Linked DNA regions of Homo sapiens: region 1 is linked to region 2. The links are contacts of gene promoters, found by promoter capture Hi-C in blood cells and fetal thymus (Javierre and others, 2016). All regions are on one chromosome and are shown on one strand. Each heading gives the region's core, a stretch centred on a gene start or on the middle of the fragment in contact. The rest is flanking DNA. Distances are from core to core; before and after follow the strand shown.

Region 1 (4,315 bases), core at 642-3,141, 130 kb before region 2:
CCAGGCCCTACCACCAAGATTGGAGATTACATTTCAACATGACATTTGGGTGGGGACAAATATCCAGATTATATCAGCTGGTAATGGTCTTTCTTTAACAAATTTAATACTTCCTTCAGGACCTCTTGTAAGACAAGTCTAGTAGTAATGAATTGCCTTAGCAATTGTTTGTCTGACATGGATCTTATTTCTCCTTCACTTATGAAGCTTAGTTCGGCTGGATATGAAACTCTTGGTTGGCATCTCTTTTCTTTAAGAATGCTAAATGTATGCAGCATAATTCACAATTGCAATTATATGGAATCATCCTAACTGCCAACTAACTGATAAGTGGATACAAATATATGGTATCTATCTATCTATCTATCTATCTATCTATCTATCTATCCATCCACACACCACAGAATACTATGCATTCATGAAAAAGAATGAAATACTGTCTTTTGCAGTAACTTTGAAGGAACTAGAGTCTATTATCCTAAGTGAAGTAAAAACTTGAACAGAAAACCAAATACAGAATGTTCTCATTTGTAAGTGGGAGCTAAGCTATGGGTACACAAAGGCATACAGAATGGTATAATGAACGTTGTGGACTCAGAATGGAAAAGAGTGGAAAAGGGGTTCAGGATGAACAATTACCTACTGGTACAATACACACTATTTAGGTGATGAATACACTAAAAGCCCAGGCTTCACCGCTATACAATTCATCCACTGTACAATTCATTCATTCATCATGTAGCCAAAAACCACTTGTACCCCTAAGCTATTGAGATTAAAAACAAACAAAACAAAACAAAACAAAAAAGAAAGCTAAATATAGGCCCCCAGTCTCTTCTGGCTTGTAGGATTTCTGCTGAAAGTCTGCTGCTAGCTGGTTCTCTTTGTAGGTGACCTGCCCCTTCTCTCTAGCTGCCTTTAATACTTTTTTCTTTCATTTCAACCTTAGAGAATCTGATGACTATGTTTCTTGGTGATGGCCATCTTATCTAGTATCTTGCAGGGGTCTCTGAATTTCCTGAATGTGGTCCTCTCTAGTGAGGTTGGGGAAATTTTCATGGATGATAGCTTGAAATATGTTTCCAAGTTGCTTGCTTTCTCTCCTTCTCTTTCAGGGATTCTAGTGAGTCATAGATTTTGTCTCTTTACATAATCTCATATTTCTTAGGGGTTTTGTTCATTCTTCTTTAGTTTTTTTCTTTATTTTTGTCTGAGTTATTTTGGATAACCAGTCTTTGAGCTCTGAGATTCTTTCTTCAGCTTCATCAATTCTGCTGTTAATACTTCTGATTGTATTATAAAATTCTTGAAGTGAGTTTTTTGGCTCTATCAAATCAGTATGGTTCTTTCTGAAAACGGCCATTTTGTCTTTCAGCTCCTATATTGTTTTATTGTATTCCCTAGAATCCTTGGATTGGGTTTTGGCTTTCTCCTGAATCTCAATGATCTTTGTTCCTATACACATTCTAAATTCTGTTTTTGTCATTCAACCATTTCACTTGGTTAAGAACCATTGCTGGGTAACTAGTGTTGTCATTTGGAGGTAAAAAGACCTCTGACTTTTTGAGTGGCCAGAGTTCTTGTGCTGATTCCTTCTCATATGTGTGGGCTGATGTTTCTTCAATCTTTGAAGCTGCTGTCCTTTGGACGGGTTTATTTGCTTTTATCTTCATTGATGGCCTTGGGGGTTTGATTGTGGTATAAGATGGGTCCTGTTGACTGGCTTTGTTTCTGGAAGATGTTAGGGGGCCAAGGCTCAACTCAGCACTCCTAAGCTGCAGGCTCTAACTCTGGGGGCGCTGGAATGAGGCCCCCAGCTTTGTTCTCTGGCCCCTTGAGGTTAGGAACCAGCCATGCTAGAGGGACAGAGGTATTCTGGGGCCTCTGGTCATGACACTCTGATGGGTGGTACCAGCCAAAGCACTTTGTCAGGGTGATGGCAGCAGGATCCATGTGTGTTTGTGTGTGTCAGCAGCAGCAGCAGCAGCAGCAGCAGCAGCATAGCAGGGTGCACGCTTGTTGGCTGGGGTAGGGTCCTGGTGGCTGTGAGGCTGAGGGCCACTACGTGTGTGTGTTTGTGCTAGTGGTGGTGGCAGTGTGGGGTGGGAGGTGGGGCCTGTGTGCCTGTGTTCACACTGGCAATGGCAGCATGGCTGGGGCAGGGGTAGGCTCATGCCTGCAGTAGTAGCACAGTGAGGTTCACATGCACACATGCAGCAGCGGGGGAGGGGAGGTGAGATCCGCCCACACACACATGTGCTGGGAAAGCGGTGGGGGGTTGGCTGTGAGCAAATGTGTGCTGGTAAAGTGGCATGGGGAAGGCTGCCACAGAGGGAGGGTGTGGTGGGCTGATATTCATCAGCAGGGGCCACTCTGCTTGAGTGCTCTGATGGTCAGGTGCAGTCTGCTGGTGAAGGAACTATGATGCAGGTCCCCAGGAGGCATGCCAGTTTGGTATCCAAGGCTGCACTGAAAGCAGGCATGGGCAGGCTGGGGCCCCAGGAGAGGCCAGCAGACAGGAGGGCACTCAGATCAGACTGGCTTGTCTCACTGGCAAGACCATCCTGCTCTGTTGAAATTGGACAGTTCCCCTAAGGCTAAAATCTCCTAGGAGATCATGGTGAGCCTTGTGGTATGGGCATCCCCAGCTGTGCTCCACCACAGACATTCCCACACTAAACCCTCTGGGCTCTACACAGGCTGGAGTCCTGCCCTTACTACCTCTCTAAGCAGCTCCCCCTGCCAGCTCAAGTGTCTTTGGGGTTGTGGGGTCTCCTGCTGCCAGGATTCTAGAGGTCTGTGGCAAAAGTGGGTCACGCCTTGCCTGCTCAACTCACCTGTTCCCCAGAGTTGTTGGGGGCCAGGAATGAGTCCCAAGGTATGATGGCCCGTGCAAGATTCCCAGCTTTCTCTCCCCTTCAGCCCAGCATCTGTGTCCTCCCTCCATCCACTCTCAGTGCCTTCCCTCAGTGCACCAGTCTTCTCTATGTCACCATCCTTAGGTGGCAGATGTTCCTCCTGGCTGCATCTAGTTAGCCGTCTTACTGAGATCCTGCAGGTCACAGGATGATAGAGGCTGCAGCAGAGTCACCTAGGGCCTCCTGGAGCAGAAAACATAAAGTAGTGGAGATAGGACCCAAGCTGGGTGAGTGGGTACAAAAAGGCAAAGACTCTGCCAGATAACAATGTTTTGTAGTTTTTAGTGTGCAAATCTTGCATTCTTTTGTTCAATTTGTTCTTAAATATTCATTGCTTTGGATGCCATTATAAAGGAAATTGCTTTCTTAATTTCATTTCATTTTCAGATTGTTTATTGCTAGTAAGTAGAAATACAACTGATTTTTATATATTGATCTTATATCCTGTAACTTTGCTGAACTTGTTAATTAGCTCTAATAGTTTTCTTAAAAATTCCATAGAATTTCCTACGTACAAATTTAACTTCTTTGTTTCTAACCTGGATGCCTTTTATTTTCTTGCCTAATTGCCCTGGCTAGAACCTCCAGTACAATGTTGAACAGAGTTGGCTGAGAAGACATTCTTGTCTTATTCCTGATCTTAGAGAGAAAGCTTGCAGTCTCTCGTCATTAAATATGTTAGTTGTAGGGTCTTTTTTAATAGATGCCCTTTATTGCATAGAGGAAATTCCCTTCTTATCCTAGTTTATTGAGTATTTTATCATAAAAGAGAGTTGAATTTTGTCAAATGCTTTTTCTGCATCTGTTGATATGACTGTGACATTTTCCTCCTTTACAATGTAATATGGAGTATTAAACTGAAATATTTTCATATGTTGAATGAATGCCAGGTAGGACAAATCCTACTTGGTCATGGTGTGTAATCCTTTTTATATATTGCTGTATTCAGTTTGTTAGTGTTTTTGCTGAAGATTTTTGTGTCTATTTTCATAAGGGATTTGGTCCGTAGGTTTTTTTCTTGTGATGTCTTTGGTTTGTTATCAGGATAATAATGTTGTTCACATTTAATTGTTATGTATGCCTTCAGAGTAGGTGAAAGGCTGGTGCAGTTGTCAGAGGCGTGTGAACCAGAGCAACTCCATCTTGAATAGGAGCTGGGTAAAATGAGGCTGAGACCTACTGGGCTGCATTCTCAGATGGTTAAGGCATTCTAAGTCACAGGATGAGATAGGAGATCAGCACAAGACACAGGTTATAAAGATCTTGCTGATGAAACAGGTTGCAGTAAAGAAGCCCGCTAAAACCTACCAAAACCAAGATGGCGACGAGAGTGACCTCTGGTCGTCCTCACTGCTACTCTCCCACCAGCACCATGACAGTTTACAGCCATGGCAACA
Region 2 (3,984 bases), core at 1,450-3,949:
AAAATCAAGGAATTGGACTTCATCAGAAATAACATCTATCCATTTAGGCTGGGTGCAGTGACTCATGCCTGTAATCCCAGCACTTTGGGAGTCTGAGCCAGGCAGATCACCTGAGGTCACGAGTTCGAGACCAGCCTGGCCAACGTGGTGAAACCCCGTCTCTACTAAAAATACAAAAAAATTAGCCAGGCGTGGTGGCAGGTGCCTGTAATCCCAGCTACTCAGGAGGCTGAGGCAGGAGAATCGCTTGAACCTGGGAGGCGGAGGTTGCAGTGAGCTGAGATCTCACCATTGCACTCCAGCCTGTGTGACAAGAGCAAAACTCTGTCTCAAAAAAAAAAAAAAAAAAAAAAAAAAAAGATGCTGCTAATGCTGCTAAGGAAATGAGAAAAAAAGTTACAGACTAGAAGAAAATATTTGCAAATCACATATCTGATAAAGGACTGCTATCCAGAATAAAAAGAATTTTCACAGCTCAATAATAATGATAATAATAAACAATTAAAAATGGACAGGACAAAAGTTTTGAACTAATACTTTGCTGAAGAAGGTACAGATGGCAATAAACAACAAAAAGATGTCCAATATCGTTACTCACTAGAAAAATACAAGTTAAAATTGAAGGAGATATCACCTTAAACCTATTAGAAAGGCTTTTTAAAACCTGACAATATTAACTGTTGACAAGGATGTAAAAATGGTACAGCCTCTTTGGAAAAGACTTTGGCAGCTTTTATAGACTTAAACATACACTTACATGTGACCCAGCAGTCCCATTCTTAGGATTTTATCCAAGGGTAATAGAAACATATGTCCACACAAAACATATGTACATGAATGTTTATAGTGGCTTCATTTATAATTGTCCCAAACTGGAAACAACCCAAATATCCATCAGCGGGTGAATGAATACGCTACTTGTGGTTCAACCATAGAATGAAAGATGGTTTAGCAATAAAAAGGAATACATTCTTGAGAAGTGAAACTTCACGCATGCTGAATTTATTCTGATGAGTGAATAAAGACTGACCCAAGAGGCTACATACTATTTAATTCCATGTCTATGACATTTTAGGAAGGGCAGGAAGCTACAGAAACAGATGTCAGCTTAGTAGTTGCCAGGCCCTGGATTGGAGAGAAAGAGACTGGCTAAAATGGGCACAAAGGCTCTCGCTTAAGCTAAATGAAACTTTCTATATTATGGTATTGTGTTACACAGACATGGTGATTGTGGTGGTTGTTATAGAGATGCATGAGTTTGTCAACATTTACACAACTAGACATTTAAAAGGGGTAAATTTTTGTATATGTAAATTATGGGCCAATAAACCTGACTTCTAGAAAAAGACCCTAGAAGAGTACCTACAGAGTGATCTTCAGGCAGCCTCAGACTTCAGCCCCCAGGCCCTTGGGGCAAGGCCGGGCAGTTGGCCCTTTGAGTGGAGGCCTGTCTTCTCCTCACTATGAATTCCCCATCTCCAAGCACATTCCCTGTCCGTAAGTTAGATGCACAGTAAATATGAGTAAATAAATGAATAAAAGAACAAATAAGTGAGTGTTTGCAGGAAACTAAAGTAGACCCTGATAATCTACAGGCTCCTGCAGGCTTCTCCAGCCTCTTCTGCCACTCCCAGCACAACTCCATTTCCCACTCCTAGAATTGACTCAAGCCTCCTCCATCCAATCCCCGACTCACTGGGCCATTTCACACTTTTGTGCCTTTGCACACGTGGGTCCCTGTGCTTGGATCACCATGGGAACCTGTACGTGTAGAAAAACACACCCCTACCCCCAGAACTCTGAGAAATATCCTGTCCTGTCCTGTAGGATAGGATGATCAGGAGTTCAAGCATGTGTGTGCACAAAATAAACACCAGTGTGAGCATGTGTGCACAGGAGACACCCAACAGTTCCAAGAAGGCTAAACTTGGGCAGAAAATTCCAGGTGGGAGAGAAAATTTTCTGTCTTATGGACAGCCCATTTCCCTTTTCCCTTCTAACTAGGATAATGGTAATAGTTAGTATTTGTTGAATGCTGTGTGTCAGGCCCTACTGGAAAGCACTTTACCTGTAGGAACCCATATGGTGCTCCTGATAACCCTTTGCACTATCATTATTCCCACTGTATAGATCAGGGAACAGACACAGGTAGGTTTTGGATGTGTGGTTACACACCCAGAAAGTCAGGAAGTCTGGCTCCAGAGCTGTGTACTTAACTGCTGCCACACTACAGGAATGACAGCCCTGGGGGGATGAACTAAGAGGTGCTGGATGAGGGTCCTGGCCTCTAAAGGCACAGCTGTTCTCCAACTCTTGCAAGGCTGAAACCAGAAGATGGCGGGCATTGCAGCTGGTGGAGGGTCTGAATACAGCTGTGAGGATAGTGATCCCTGGGCTAGGCTCTGCAAGGAAACTGAGCAGTGCAGGGCCTTACCAGCCCCAACCATCTGGGGGCCACCCTGGCTGGCACCAGCAGGAGGGTGGGCTGGCTTCTCAGAGGTCTGGGAGACTCAGCCTCCTTCTGCCAGGGCTGCAGTGGCCGACTCCTCCTCCCCTCTGTCCCCACCCTGCACCGCCTCCAGACCCCAGTCCTGACTATTGCTTAATCCCCAGGAGCCCAGTTCCTGTGGGCAGCGCCTGACATGCCTGATCCTCTCTTTTCTGCAGTTCAAGGGAAAGACGAGATCTTGCACAAGGCACTCTGCTTCTGCCCTTGGCTGGGGAAGGGTGGCATGGAGCCTCTCCGGCTGCTCATCTTACTCTTTGTCACAGGTAGGATCCCCTCCGTGCCCTGTGATGCCTTCTCTCCCTCACTTTGAGCATGTGGTTGGGGCGCGGGTGGTGGGCCCTGGGGTGAATTATGAAGGCGGTGGCAGTCCTCGCATGCCTGAGTGCCCTGTTCTGCACTCCTCTCCTCCCCACCCTGCCCATATTCTTCACACCCTCCTTCCCTCCCCAGTATCAAAACCTACCCTCAGACTCTTTCTGCATGTGGACATGTAAGGGGCTGGTGGACTCTGGTTGCATTGGAAGGGAAGGAGTGCTAACAGTGGCATCCCAGGCACTAGCTGGCAGTTGGGGGAAGCTTTGGGGGGCACTGGCACTGGTAATAGCCTCTGAAATTATAAGCCACTAATTATGAGCCCCTACAGTTATAAAGGAGGAAAGAACCTGAGGATGTTCATCTGCATCTTTGGGGCACTCTCTCCCCTGCTCTGAAGGTCCCCTTGTCCTCAGCTCTTGATGGGAGGTGAGGAGCGTAGAGATTTCCGTTGCTGAGTTGAGGGGAATTGACACACCAAATTTTTGTACACAATTGCTTCTTCCCGCTGAGGAAAGCGCACCTTTTGCTCCCCCAGAGCACTGGACAAACCTGGGCAAGAGGAGAGACGGTGCCAAATGGAGTCTTGTTCCTGCAGCTTCTTAGATGGTGGTCAGGGGGAAGGCGGGGTTCTGAGGCATGGATGGGAGGTGGTCAGATGGGAGAGGGCCACGGCCCATCTGGTCTCTCTAGTTCCAAAAGGCAAGCCACCAACTTCCCAATCCTATCTTTCAAGCCTCTGTCACAGTAATGGTTGAAGATGGCAGGCAAGGGAGGACCAAGAGAGAAGTCAAAGCAGGGGGCTCTGGGGGCTGCCCCAGCAACAGGCTGGTGCTCTAAGCCCATCTCCCCCGCCCTAAGGAGGGTTCCCAAAATAGCAGCCTCATGTCTCCCCCAAAATATCTCCGAGACGGGTCCTTCCTGAAAGGGGAACAAAGCCACAGAAATAGGGAAGCTGGAAGTTAAAGGTCAGGAAAGTCGGTACCAATGTGGGCGGCTGCAGAGCAAGCAAGAGTGGCGGGGCAGGGAGAGCCAGCCCCAGGCCGAGAGGAGAGGTCCCAGTCCCAAATGATGGCAAAGAGATGTGCAGAACAGAACTGGAGGGGGTTTTAAGACCAAGTGCCTCCAGAATAGACCCAGAGAAGGTCAGTTACTTCTCCAAG

Evidence for each region. The method cuts DNA at HindIII sites, captures the fragments that hold promoters and counts their contacts. A CHiCAGO score of 5 or more calls a contact.
Region 1: a contact is called between a fragment that was not itself captured here and the fragment with the promoter of TREM2 in region 2, in 3 of 17 cell types (M2 macrophages, neutrophils and M1 macrophages). The highest score is 6.0, in M2 macrophages.

The regions. Positions count from the first base shown.
Region 1 is chr6:41,292,636-41,296,950 of GRCh38, reverse strand. No RefSeq gene overlaps it. Among named protein-coding and RNA genes, the nearest start is that of TREM1, 8.1 kb to the right of the region's middle. The HindIII fragment of the contact is 3,363 bases long and covers 210-3,572 here.
Region 2 is chr6:41,161,831-41,165,814 of GRCh38, reverse strand. TREM2 (triggering receptor expressed on myeloid cells 2) reads left to right here and starts at 2,699. Exons shown (of 5, transcript NM_018965.4): 1 at 2,699-2,772. The coding sequence starts at 2,733. The HindIII fragment of the contact is 7,981 bases long and covers 1-3,087 here.